Regions from separate parts of the Homo sapiens genome. Here region 1 is linked to region 2. Evidence: promoter capture Hi-C in 16 types of primary human blood cells and fetal thymus (Javierre and others, 2016). All regions are on one chromosome and are shown on one strand. The core of a region is centred on a gene start or on the middle of the fragment in contact, and the rest is flanking DNA. Distances in the headings are between cores, read along the strand shown.

Region 1 (6,317 bases), core at 2,756-5,255, 1.0 Mb after region 2:
AAAATATTCCTAGATTTTATGCTTCCAGGGAACAGAGACTAAGTTTGTTCATTTTTCACTATCCTACAGCACAGAGCTTTATATTTCACAGGATTCACAAAACATTTAATTAAAATTAATTAGTTCCTGCAAGAAACAGGATAATAAGCTAGGTAGACAAATTTCTTTTTTGTTTATAAAATCCATAAGAAAATGAAAATGGGGTTATATCTGGCCTTTCTTTTTCCTCTGACCACTACATTAATTAAATGTGGCCTCTTTTGGAGTTACAAATACAGACATTTTAATATTAGTCCCTACCAATGTTTTGAGAAGGAGATTTTATTTTTTAGCAATATAAGAGATCAAGAATTAGGTAGTTTAGAGACCATATTAAAATAATCATTTCAGAACTGAAGAACAATATTGTACTCTAAGAGCTTATACTAAGCAACTTGGTTCAGTGAATAGTTAAAATTTTATAATATTTTCATAAATGCTTATAGATATTATATTTGTTGAATATAAAACTATATAAAACAGTAGTCATAACTACAACTGGCTTTTCAATAAAGTTAATACTTGGCATAAAAGTTCTAGAAGCTTCCTAACTTTAATTTTGGCTGAACTGATTTACTTCCTTAAATAATTTCCTATTTTTAAAAGGTAACGTAAGTTTAGTTCAGAAAACCCATTTACTTCAAATAAAATCTGATTGGGGAGAACAAAAACAGGTTACCATTTTATACTCTAAGACTCTACATTATTTTTCTTCTCATTAGCTCCCTCTACTGTTTCTGAAAAAAAATAAAAAGCCGACAAATTTACAAATCACTTTCTTATATATTAGTTTCAATGAATTTTAGTTTTGAGCTTGAACTGAAAATTGTGGAAAATGAATTCATATTTGTAAATTTGAAGGATAAAAATCAGCAGCAAAAATAATCTGTCAAATGCTATTATAAAAAGATAAATGCAACTACAATAATTTCCATCAAATAAGGTTACCAACTTCCATATCACATTTATACAATGCTTCACAATTTACAGAAATCCCTTGTTTTAGTCTCTAATTTCAGTGAAATGTACTCACCATTTTGTCTAATAATCATTTCTACTTAGGATTTTCCTCAGTTTACTCTCTGCAACTAAATCTTGAAAAGTCTTCTTTCTCAGACCTATAAACTCTCTCCAACTTGCAAAACCTCTTGGGAAATCTTCAAATACATTCTCAATCTAAGTATGTGACTTGTTCCAGTTTTTCAAGTAAAAATCGCCCGTATGAATGCTTATGGTTTATCTTATATATATACAACTAGTTTAATGTACAATTATCATGTATACATACTTATTTTACCCATTTGCTGTATTTTTTTTTTCATTTCTAGATTAAATTCAAACCCTACAGCCGTCAGTTACCTTTGCTAAATTTTATTAAGTCCAAACACCTACCACCAAAGAAACTCTTATTGGCAATGTATACTAGGGCTCAAATTCAAGAGAAACCTACTAGAGAAAAGAAGCATTTCAAAGTGCATGTGCTTTTGGCAGCTTTGCTCTGTGTGTAAGGACAGACCACTGTGAAAAGTGAAAAGGCAGAAAACATGTAATTTAATTCATATTATATATAATGCATTACATTTAGATAGGGTATAACTACTGCCTAATAGCCCCTAATATAGAAAAGTGGTTTTGTGGTATGTGAGTATGCATATGTGTAAAAGAAAAGGGCTTCATATTCTATTTAAATAAAGTACTAAATACAACTCAAAGAACACCTCAAACTTATGTAGCACTACCTAGTAGAATTAAAAATAATCTAGTGTCAGTGTGGGTTTGTGTTTAGTGACTAATTATAATTAATGCAACAGACTTTTTCCCCAATGAAATATGCTATGTCAATTACCTCATTCTAATGCTTTACACACATCAAATGAATGCAGGTAAAGGGTCTATGTGCCTGGCTCAGGGGATGTTCTCAAAAAATGCAGGCTATTATAAGCTCCTTCAAATAAAACAACAGAATGTCATATATGAAAATGTGTTTCTCCTTAAACATAAATACAGTTGATCGATCCTATTAGTTTTGTGGATTCCATTGACTACACATGAAATTTATTTATAATCTCAAAATCGGACATGCACAGAGCTATGAGAAATTTGAGTTGCCTGATGCATACACTCCTAGCTGAGGCTGAACAAGGCAGTGCCCTGACTTCTTCTTTCAGCTGACACAATGTAAACAGGTATCCTTTTTGGGATCTATTTAGCACCTCTTTTTTGCATCTTTGTGTTTGTTGATGTTAACTGCTGTTTTCAAATGGCCCCCAAGTGTAGTGCTGGAGTGCTGTAGTGTTCCTAAGCACAAGAAGACAATGATGTGCCTTAATGAGAAAACGAGTGTGTTAAATAAGCTGCATTCAAGCATGAGTTACAGTACTGTTGACTGTGAGAGTTCAATATTAATGAATCAAAAATATGTGCATGTATGTGTATAAAAATGTATTTAAACAGAAAGAGGCATAAAACAAAGTTATGTATTGACAGGTTGGCAAAATGTGACCAGAGGCCCACAGTATCCTAACCATCGTATCTCCCCTGGGAGCAATGGCTCAGTATTCACAAATTCAGTCTGTAGCAACTTTATGGAACACAATTATGTTGAAAAACAAGAACTGTCTGTCTTACAAATAAGATTTCTTGATGGATTAGAAGTGGGTAATGAGAGAAGTCAGGGCTGACTCCAAGGTTTCTTGCCTGAGAAAACGGAAGGCTAGAACTGCCATCAATTAAGGTGAAGAAGGCTAGAGGGAGCAAGTGTGGAGGAAAGAAGTTTAGTTCTAGACATATTAAGTTTGAGATATTCAAGTAAACTTGTCAAAAAGGCAACTTATATATAAATCAAGAGTCTACAGGAAGGTCTCAGGTGGAGATATAAATTTGGAACTGTTAGCACAGAGACAGTATTTAAAGCCATGGGATAGTCTGAGAGTGAATTGATGAGAAGGTGACCGTCAGAAGACTGGAGAGAAGAGGAGGAATCAGCAAAGGAAGTACAGAAGGAGTGAGCAATACATGAAGGAGGGAAAAACTAAAGTGTGGAATCCTAGAAATCAAGTGAAAAAAGCATTAAAGAGAAGTGCATGATCAACTGTCTCAAAAGCCTCTGGTAAGTCCAATAAGATGGAGAACATTAGCACGAGCCTGAAAGCACTATCAGTAGAGTGCTGGACATCAAAGCCTAACTGAGGTAGACTTAACTGAATGTGAAAAGGATATGAGAAAAGTGCTGCCAACTCCTTGGAGTTTAGCTGCAAAAGGAAGCAAAATAGGTCATTAAGTTATAGAGGAAGGGAGGTCAAAGAATTTGTTGGGGTTTCCTTTGGTTTTTTCTTTTTTTTTCAAGGTGAGAAAGATGTTTGTATGCCAATGAACTGTTAATTTGTTCTTGCATGACTGTATGCTGGTAATAACACAAAGAGAGGAAAATAAAGTATGAAAGAGAGGACGGAATTCCTGGAACTTACATATTTTTAAGCATTATCAATAGGGATAATAAAAGCTTATGGGATTCAAGGGATATTATCATCTCAGTAATTGATTTGAATGTTAATGCTGGATTAAGAAGATCTCTTTTAGGACTAACTATTCCTTTTGTGCTCTCTCAATGTTTCTTTCCCTCCCACAATAATCAAAACCTATCTTAAATTTCTTTAAATTAAAACTCCACTATATCTTCATAATACGATAGGGCTGTCTACTAAAAGCAAAGTTCATTGTTATTTCAGTATGTAAAAGTCTATTAGCTCCATAGAGACAACAGATTATCAGAATTGTGAAAAAATTAAATGCCAGTTTCCATGTCCTGAAAATGGTGTTCTGTTACTCACTTTTAATCCAGCTGCATAGCCCACTGGTTGTGGGGCAATATTGGACTGTCCAGCTTCCCCTACAACCACAGCTAAGCCAAAGACCTCCTGGAAGGCATCTCGGACAGCAGCAACTTTTACTTCTTTATTTGAGGTCACTACAATATCCAGTTCACCTCCAGATTCTAAAAAGACCAGAGGAAAATTTAACTTTCAAATTAAAATAATGAAATTCTCATAATTACTACCATACCAGGTGCTAACATCTAATATACATAATTATTACCAGTTTCATAAAACCATGCAAGATATAGATCATTATCTTTTTTATATGCTTGAGAAAACTGAGGCCAACAAAGTTTTGCCCAAGGTAACGTATCTACTTAGCACTAATGTCAGGACTCAAAACTGACATTACATATCACAAGCCAGAAATCACATATCTGGCTTGTGAAGTGTAAGTTACATATTTAGTATACTCCACGGAAAATTAAAATAAAGACTTACTGATAGTAAGTGATTTGTCAATGAGTTGCAGAGAAGTTATGTACTAAACAAGCACTACCATGAAATATACTTTTTAACCTAGAAAATAGTTTAAATATGGGGTCATCAAGCTTTTTATTAAATATCCCCACAATGTTCTGAGCATACACCACAAATAGATATTTATCAATTATACATGTACTACTGCCCTAATATAAATATGCAAGCATATATGAAATTGAAATAACACATAAAACTTAAAATTTAAAATATTAAGAGTAATACGAAATAAAAATATTTTCAAATATTTTTAATTTTTCAATTACTTAAACAACCTAAGTACTACTATTTCTAGACAGATCAATTTGACCAAATGTTTCATTATTTTTAAAAATCTTAACCAAACATTTCTGTGATATAATGAATTCAAAGCCCTTGTTCTAAACACAGCACATTTTGATATTTGGCATTAATAGTTATCACCGGCAAAAGAGATTTTTCATGAAAATTGTTTATAATGTAAAACATTTTGCCCTAGAAACAAGGTTGTTTTTCCCTAATAAATATCATGTGGAACAGGGAAAGATATTTTCAAATATTTGGGTTTTAAAAATAATGGATCCCTTTTTCCTGACTGACATAATGTCTCACAGATCACATCTGTACTGGATACTTCAGAAGTTACTAGGACATAAAAGAGAAGAAGAATATACTTTTTTTTTCACTTTTTTCCTCCACATGGGACACATCTCTCGACCTTAGCTAAGTACTGCTCCATTAAGCTTCAGCTCAAAATGGCTTTTCAGCTTGTGATGAGTAGTCCTGCCATTTCTAATACTTTTTGAGTTTCTTGACACATACGAAATTGTTACATCAAATGATTTCTAGAATATTTGTGTAAAAATACCTTAAGATGGCCGGGCGCGGTGGTTCACGCCTGTAATCCCAGCACTTTGGGAGGCCTAGGCGGGAGGATCAAAAAGTCAAGAGATCGAGATCATCCTGGCCAACATGGTGAAACCCCATCTCTACTAAAAATACAAAAATTAGCTGGGCATGGTGGCGTGCACCTGTAGGTCCAGCTACTCAGGAGGCTGAGGTAGGAGAATCGCTTGAACTCAGGAGGCAGAGGTTGCAGTGAGCTGAGATTGCACCACTGCACTCCAGCCTGGCGGTAGAGTGAGACTCCACCTCAAAAAAAAAACAACAAAAAAAAAAACCTTAAGATTTACTTTGAGTTGTTTTGTTAGATCAGAATGGTGATGCTTTGCTGTCAGTAAAGATGTCAGCTTTCTTAAATTCGATTTTATTACTTTTTAAAGCTGATAAAGTTATGACATTTGCTAATAATAGAAATTTCATTTCTGTACCTTTCTTTTTTCCCCTTCGGTGTTACACATTTTTCTTGATGGCTCTACCTTTATCATTTACTAGCTTCTTTACCTTGTGGAAGTCACTGAGCTTGTTTCTTTGTAGAAAAATGCCTGCTATCCAGCCTGGCCAACATGGAGAAACCCCGTCTCTACCAAAAATTAGCTGGGCGTGGTGGCACACGGCTGTAGTCCCAGCTACTCAGAAGACTGAGACATAAGAATAACTTGAACCCAGGAGGCAGAGGTTGTAGTGAGCTGAGATCACGCCACTGCACTCCAGTCTGAGTGACAGAGTGAGACTCTGTCTCAAAAAAAAAAAAAAAAAAAAAAAGAAGAAGAAGAATAAAAACACCTGGCACCTCATAGGGTTTGCTCTAAGGATTAAATAAGGTAATTGCTTTCATAGTCTAACATAGTACAGCCATTAAAACAGCAAAAGCTCCAAAAATATTAATTCCTTTTTTTCCTTCATTCAAAATATGTACTTGCAAAGAAAAGAACATATATGGTGGACTCCAATTTTGAATTCTTTGGACAGTTACAAACACAAAGAACAACTCAGTTGATTTAATGCTTGATTCAATTTTCTACTACAAGGGAAGCAAAGTGG
Region 2 (6,735 bases), core at 1,296-3,795:
ACTCTCTAAGAGCATACAGAGTTTCTCTTCATTCATATTTGACAGCTGCATAATACTTCACTGAATAGATGAAGTCATACACAACAGTTGCTTGTTCATGGGAAGTTTGTGTTTCTAGTCTTTCACTATTATAAACAGTGCTGCAAAGAACAGTCAAATGTATGCACCATTTCATTTTTTTTTGTCTATGTATCTTTTATATAGGTTCCTAAAAGTGGAATTGCTGGATCAAAGGGTAAAGGCATAGGCAATTCTAGAGCATTTAGATTTAATGTGATGGACAGGAATGAACCATGAAGCCACGTAAGTATTAAACAACAGCAACAACAACAAAAAAAGCAGATACAGGATGTTTTAAATGGTATGACTAAAACACTGCTTTAAACCAGGAGATAGTTACATTAGTTAGCTCTTTTAGTTTAAATAATTTTATTATTTGAAGCGAAGTACGTGAAAATAACTGTATTGCTCTTTCTCTGGATTTTAACAAATCGGTGTCTCACATGAAATTATGTAACTCTTATCTTTTCTTCTGCTTTATGAGAATACTGTAACAAGGGGTACTACCTTCAGACCCTTTGACTACATGGAGAAATAAAGGAGGGAGTTGTGCCAATTACTGGAGAATTTTGGCTGTCAAATAGCACATCTGGGCAATTTGGGCCAGAAATACATATATATGATATATGATATATATATGATATATGATATATATGATATATGATATATACGATATATATGATATATGATATATATGATATATACGATATATGATATATACGATATATATGATATATATGATATATGATATATATGATATATATGATATATATGATATATATGATATATATGATATATGATATATATGATAGATCATATATGATCTATCATATATATCATATATCATATATCATATATATGATATATATGATCTATCATATATATGATATATCATATATGATCTATCATATATATGATATCATATATATGATATATGATATATATGATATATGATATATATCATATATATGTTATGTGTATATATGTATATATGTACGTGTATATATATACACACACACACACACACACACCCTCCTATACATATTCAACATTTTCCCCTTTAAACTAAGGTTTTCTAGGCTTGAATAAACCAGACACTGCTCTTTTGTACTGTTTCGCAAACTGTGCTTGGATGGTCTCTCCTTGTTTTCAGGAGTGTTTGATTTTTAAATTGTGATATTCCACTAAATGAGAAATGACCAGGACTTCACAGAGATTTCATGAAAGGAGGGCCACAAAGGAAGAACCCAGAGCAGGCCGGTGAGAGGCACTCTAAGAGGTACAGAGGGTTGCACCAATTGCTAGGATTTAATCAATCAGAAGGGGTCCAAGCCAGGAAGCAAGGGCATGCCCCGAGCCTCATTTACCCGCCTTGTCACCACCCTGCCCGCTAGTACATTTCAGAGTCTCTAACCCCTCCCTGCATGCAAGCCCAGGCAGAGTCCTGCCAGGTTTCACACCAGAGCACACCCCTGCACGGACTCCCCAGGACCGCGGCGCCGGCTGGCTGCCTCGGCCCCCCGCGGCCGCGTGAGCTCCCTCTTGGTGGTGGAGGGCGCATTTCAATCTGGAAACTCCCAGCCCCTAATTTGGTCCCGCAGACTGACGCCGCTCCCGGTGGGGCGGTGGGGGTAGGAGGGCAAAGGGGAGGTCTCCTCCTTCTTGGATTGAGGCTGCAACCAACAGCCCCGTGAGCCTCTATTCCTGGCTGACTGCGAATCCCCCCATCCCAGGTCAGGGGCCGGGACCCTACAGAAAGACCCGTTCTCATCCTCAACCTTGCGGCCTCTGTCCGGCGGGGAAGTTCAGCTGCGGGTCAGTTCAGCTGCGGGTCCGGCCAAGCCTGGCGCGCTTAGGCACCCTAGTCCCTGGTCCGCGGCCGGGCGAGGACGGAGGGGGAGGGGAAGGGGCTGCTGCCTCCTTTCCCAAATCCGGTCCCTAATCGCCCCATCCCCCGCCGTCTACTCGCTTTGTACAGGCAGTCAAAACAGAGCTAGCGGCCAATTGACGGGGACGGGAAGCAAAGCCGCCTAGCGCCTCGCCCCCTCCAGCCGGCCCCCCGGGCCCCTCCTCTCGGCGCCCGGACCTTGGCCCTCCCTCTCCTTTCCCACTTCTCTCTTTGCCCTAACTTCGCCCCCATCCCCCGCTCATTTCCTCTCGCACCCGGGCTCGCCAATCCCTCTTTCCAAGTCCCTCTTCCAGCCCGGCCTTCCTCTCGGGTTCGCCCCCCTTCTCCCCAATCTCCGTCCTCTTCCCTCCCTTCGCCCTCCCCCCCTTCCTTCCTCTTCCCCTCACCCAACCCTGGTTCCCCTCGTTCCTCAGTCCCGATCTCTCCCTTACTCTGTCCCCGCCCACTCTGCGCCGGCCTCTCAGTCCGGGTTGAGCCCCACGTGTGGACGGCCGCGCCCCCACTGACAGCCGCCGCCCGCCGGCCCGCCCCGCGCCCCGCCGGGCCTCTAAAACCCCCGCGCCGCGCCCTCCACCGCCGCATCTTCTCCAGCGCCCAGCCTCCCGCCCTCTCTCTTGCTGGCCGCACGCCCCGGCCCCGCGCACCTCCGCCCGGCTCCGCAGCCGCTACCCGCGCTTCGTTGCCCTGTGGGACTCCGAGCGAGCCCGGAGGGAACCCTCCTCTTCTTCTGGGGGCGACTTTTGTTTGCTTGCCTGTTTCTTTCTGGTGACTTTTGCAGCTTTCCAATATCCGTCTTCGGAGCGCACGGGAATCCGCCGAGCTCTGCGTGCAGGCCCTTTTTTCTTTTGAGGTTCACATTTTTTGAAATTTTACGCCAGGGCTTTTGTAATTTCCTCCCCCGCCCGCTGACGGTCCTGGAGTCGCTCGGGGCTTTAGGCCGGTTATGCAACGTGTACCGCTCGGGGCTGCCGGCTGCACCTCCGCCGCGCCTCGCCGCTCACTGCGCTAGACCCGGCGCCCCGCGTCTCGCTTCGCGGGCAGTCAGGGGGCCGGCGCTCTGTCGAGGTCTCCAGCTAGAGCAGGGAGCCCGAGCCCGAGGGAGTCCCCGGAGCCGACGAAGGGCTTATTAGACCCTGACTCTTTTCTGAGGCGCGCAGATTTTGTCTTTGATCACTCCCTCTCCGCGGGTCTACGGCCGCGCGCTTTCGGCGCCGGCGATGGGGAGAAGACGGAGGCTGTGTCTCCAGCTCTACTTCCTGTGGCTGGGCTGTGTGGTGCTCTGGGCGCAGGGCACGGCCGGCCAGCCTCAGCCTCCTCCGCCCAAGCCGCCCCGGCCCCAGCCGCCGCCGCAACAGGTTCGGTCCGCTACAGCAGGCTCTGAAGGCGGGTTTCTAGCGCCCGAGTATCGCGAGGAGGGTGCCGCAGTGGCCAGCCGCGTCCGCCGGCGAGGACAGCAGGACGTGCTCCGAGGGTAAGTGGGCAAGCGGCTCCGCACCTAGGGCTCCGGCTTGGGGGAGGGGGGAATCCTCAGTTTGGCGGCTTTCTGGCCCACTCCGTCCCAGACCCTTTAGCTGGAGCCTAGAGCTGCAGCCCCCTTTGCCAGAATATCCAAAGACCCCCAGGAGCGCGTCCCCCTTTTCCTTCCCAACCCCGCAGCTCAGCGGGCGGAAAGCCCTCTCTCCGGGGGTTGGGCGGCGGGTGGTTAGGGGGTCCAGGGGTGCCGATCGCAGAGCGTGTGCAGAGCTCGCGCTGCGGGAACAGGTTCTGAATGTCCGGCGGCAGGCGGGCCTGGGTCCGCCTGCTGCAGGGGCCAGAGAAGCCTGCTTGCTCCCCACGTCGGGGCCGCCGCTCGTGAGCCTTTTGTTTGAGGACGTGTGCAGGGTTCACAGCTCACCTTCTCATCGTCAACCCGAGCGCTCCACCTTGCGACGCGCTTTCCTTGACACGTCGGGGCCAAAGTAACAGTTGACCAAGGAGGAATGGATTTGGGAAGGAGGGCAAGGATTCTTTGGAACGGAATGGTCCCTTTGTTCTCTGCATCTGGAAGCTAGAATAGTAGCAAATTATATGTTTCCATGCCTCTTTTCGCCCTTTAAAAAGGCAGGCAAGGGACGACAGATGAAAGGCAGTGTTTAGACATTTCTGACCCTCCTGCATTCCAGCATCTAGCTCTTTTGCTTCCACGTCTGCCTCCCGATCTCCAATAATTTGAAGTGTAATTTTGATTTGTTTGTTGTCCTGAAATCTACTCGCTCGGGGCATTGCTTACGAAGACCGTTTATATGTTGCTGCATCCCTCTACCTATCTGTTACGTGACCGCGCTTGTCCATCACAGGCCCAACGTGTGCGGCTCCAGATTCCACTCCTACTGCTGCCCTGGATGGAAGACGCTCCCTGGAGGAAACCAGTGCATTGTCCGTGAGTGCTTGGCAGGGATCGCAGCTTGGGGCAGCGCACTCGGCCCTATCTCCGGCCGACCTCTTGCACTCAGCCATTTGGACGCATAGTTGCGTTTAAAATCAAGTGATCACATTGCACTGATAATCGGGACGCGGCCCCATTTGAATAGTGGGGAAGACTCAACCGGTTTGAGTCAGTTCAGACTTCACTTCTAGACTCTGTTGAAGGGCAATAATGATAAAGATTTCAAAGATAATTGAAAGTTTTATCTTTCTATGTCTATTAATACAAATTGGAAGAGGGGAGGAGTAGAGCAATTATCTAGATAACTCAAAACCACTTTTTCTGTAAAAAATCCAGATGAGACCACATGTTATTATGCAAATTATCAGGCTTTTAACTCTGCTTGAGGTTTGGGCCTTATGAAGATCAAGATTTCTTAGGCATTTATATAAAACCACTTTCTTATTTCTGGTTTTATATCAACAACCACATAACCTAGATACGAAAGGAGCATTCTCGCGGATTTAGTGTTGACCTAAGTTAACAAACTTTTAAAAGACAGAACTCTTACAAAGGGGCTTGAGTTTTTTTTTTTTTTTGCTTTTTGGAAGACGTTTAAATTTAGGGTTTCCAGACCCTGAACCTCAATAGTGTGCAGTAGATTTCCAAAGTATGAATCTTAGACCTTGAAAAATTCTGTATCTCTGACCTTAAAAGTTTTGATTATTTTATTCTGTTTCCAAAGTGTATAACCAGTTCTCCAAGTTCTAATTGGAGAGCTCATTAGTTATCAGCCTCACAGTCACGGACTCTGGGATGTCTTATTTCATATGCCTGTAAATTTGTGACTTGCAGTGTGACTGGCCTTCTCCTGTGTGTTTATGTAGCACAACCACATTTGTCTTGTTGGAAGGAGAGCCAGGTATCATAGACAGCACATTCATTTAGAGCCAGTCTTGACTTTAGATTGACCTCCATGTTCTCCAGGGAGAAAATAATTATGCAACTGTGAACAGAGAAAAAGGGCAAGGCACACTAACCAAGGGATAATAAGGATGTAGTGGCATTTCTAACTCTGTATTTATTGGTTTTGTGGTTTTGAGATAGATGCTTAATGTTATTTCTGGGCAGTTTTTAAAAAAGAGATGAAATCTCCAGTGTCATAAAGACTAATTTCTTCTTATTTTTTCTACCTTAACATCCCACTATTTCCAATGGCAAAAATAGGAAACAACTGTGTTATTTAAAGTGACTTATAAATATTTTGAACAAATCCTCTGATTATAATAAGCCTTTGCTTTATTTTTTAAAAGAACATGTTCTGCATTCTTTTCTCTCCAACACAGAAGTCATATGTGAGGCATTAATGGAGGGTGGGTTTACTCTTTCAGGCCAGTAGGGCATTACCATGGCTGCTTTAAACTTACACGGTTTTTTAGACTCCTGAAACAGCTAACGTCACTCATCACACACCTGCCATACTAGCTGGGAGTGACTTAGGCACGGCGGAAAGTCTGACTCACTAAATGTAATGAATGTGACTGCCATTATTGAGTTGGAGAGCAGCCGAGGAGGAGGGATTGGTTCATGGTACGTGTTGAAAATCTGTAAAGTCAGATTTTATTGGATCAGTGTGGAATGGGAATTCCAGAGAGCAGAGCCTTCCAGAATATTTGCAGTAGAAATATATGTATGGCCCCACTGATCACTGGTAGAAAATCAGCTTTGAAAATCTCAGGGTAACAGTGACTATTGTAATCTGCATTTCTGAGACTTGAAATATTTGGATGGTTATGAGCTACATTGGAATTTACACGTATCAGAAATCTATGAGAGTAAACTTTGAAATGATCTTTATATCTGTAAGAAACATTTATAACACTTGTGTCAAGACGTATCTACAAAAATATTTATTAGAAACACATCTAAAAATTCTAAGTACCTAAGATTATTAAACAGTGCACAAAATAGGGACAGTGTAATACCTTTATATTCTATTGCATGAGTCTCATTTAATGCTAATAGCCTGCATTCAATTCAGTAGTTCAATTAGTCTGACATTTAAAATGATCATATGTAGAGGTAATAAGTGAAATGAAACCGTTATAAACTCAAAATCAAGAATTTTAATTCCAGGCCTTCCTGATGATAATGAATTAAGTAAATTATTATATTTATTGGATTTATCTGTATCACACCATTTAGCAAAAGAAAGTATCTGAGACCATTTACAAAAAAGAAAATAAATAAAATACAAATAAATAAAAACCAAATATTAATTTTCTCATACATTTGTACCTCAGCATTCTTTTAATATAGAAAAATAAAAAATGGTCAACAGAATTTTAGTGTTTGACAGGCT

Evidence for each region. The method cuts DNA at HindIII sites, captures the fragments that hold promoters and counts their contacts. A CHiCAGO score of 5 or more calls a contact.
Region 1: a fragment that was not itself captured here is called in contact with the fragment with the promoter of FBN2 in region 2 in 1 of 17 cell types (monocytes); the score reaches 5.1 in monocytes.

What each region holds. Positions count from the first base shown.
Region 1 is chr5:127,531,339-127,537,655 of GRCh38, reverse strand. It overlaps PRRC1 (proline rich coiled-coil 1), which reads right to left. Exons shown (of 9, transcript NM_130809.5): 6 at 3,870-4,033. Among named protein-coding and RNA genes, the nearest start is that of PRRC1, 17 kb to the right of the region's middle. The HindIII fragment of the contact is 924 bases long and covers 3,544-4,467 here.
Region 2 is chr5:128,534,055-128,540,789 of GRCh38, reverse strand. FBN2 (fibrillin 2) reads left to right here and starts at 2,545. Exons shown (of 65, transcript NM_001999.4): 1 at 2,545-3,440; 2 at 4,306-4,388. The coding sequence starts at 3,187. RefSeq lists enhancers at 1,719-2,219, 3,945-4,875. The HindIII fragment of the contact is 14,548 bases long and covers 1-6,735 here.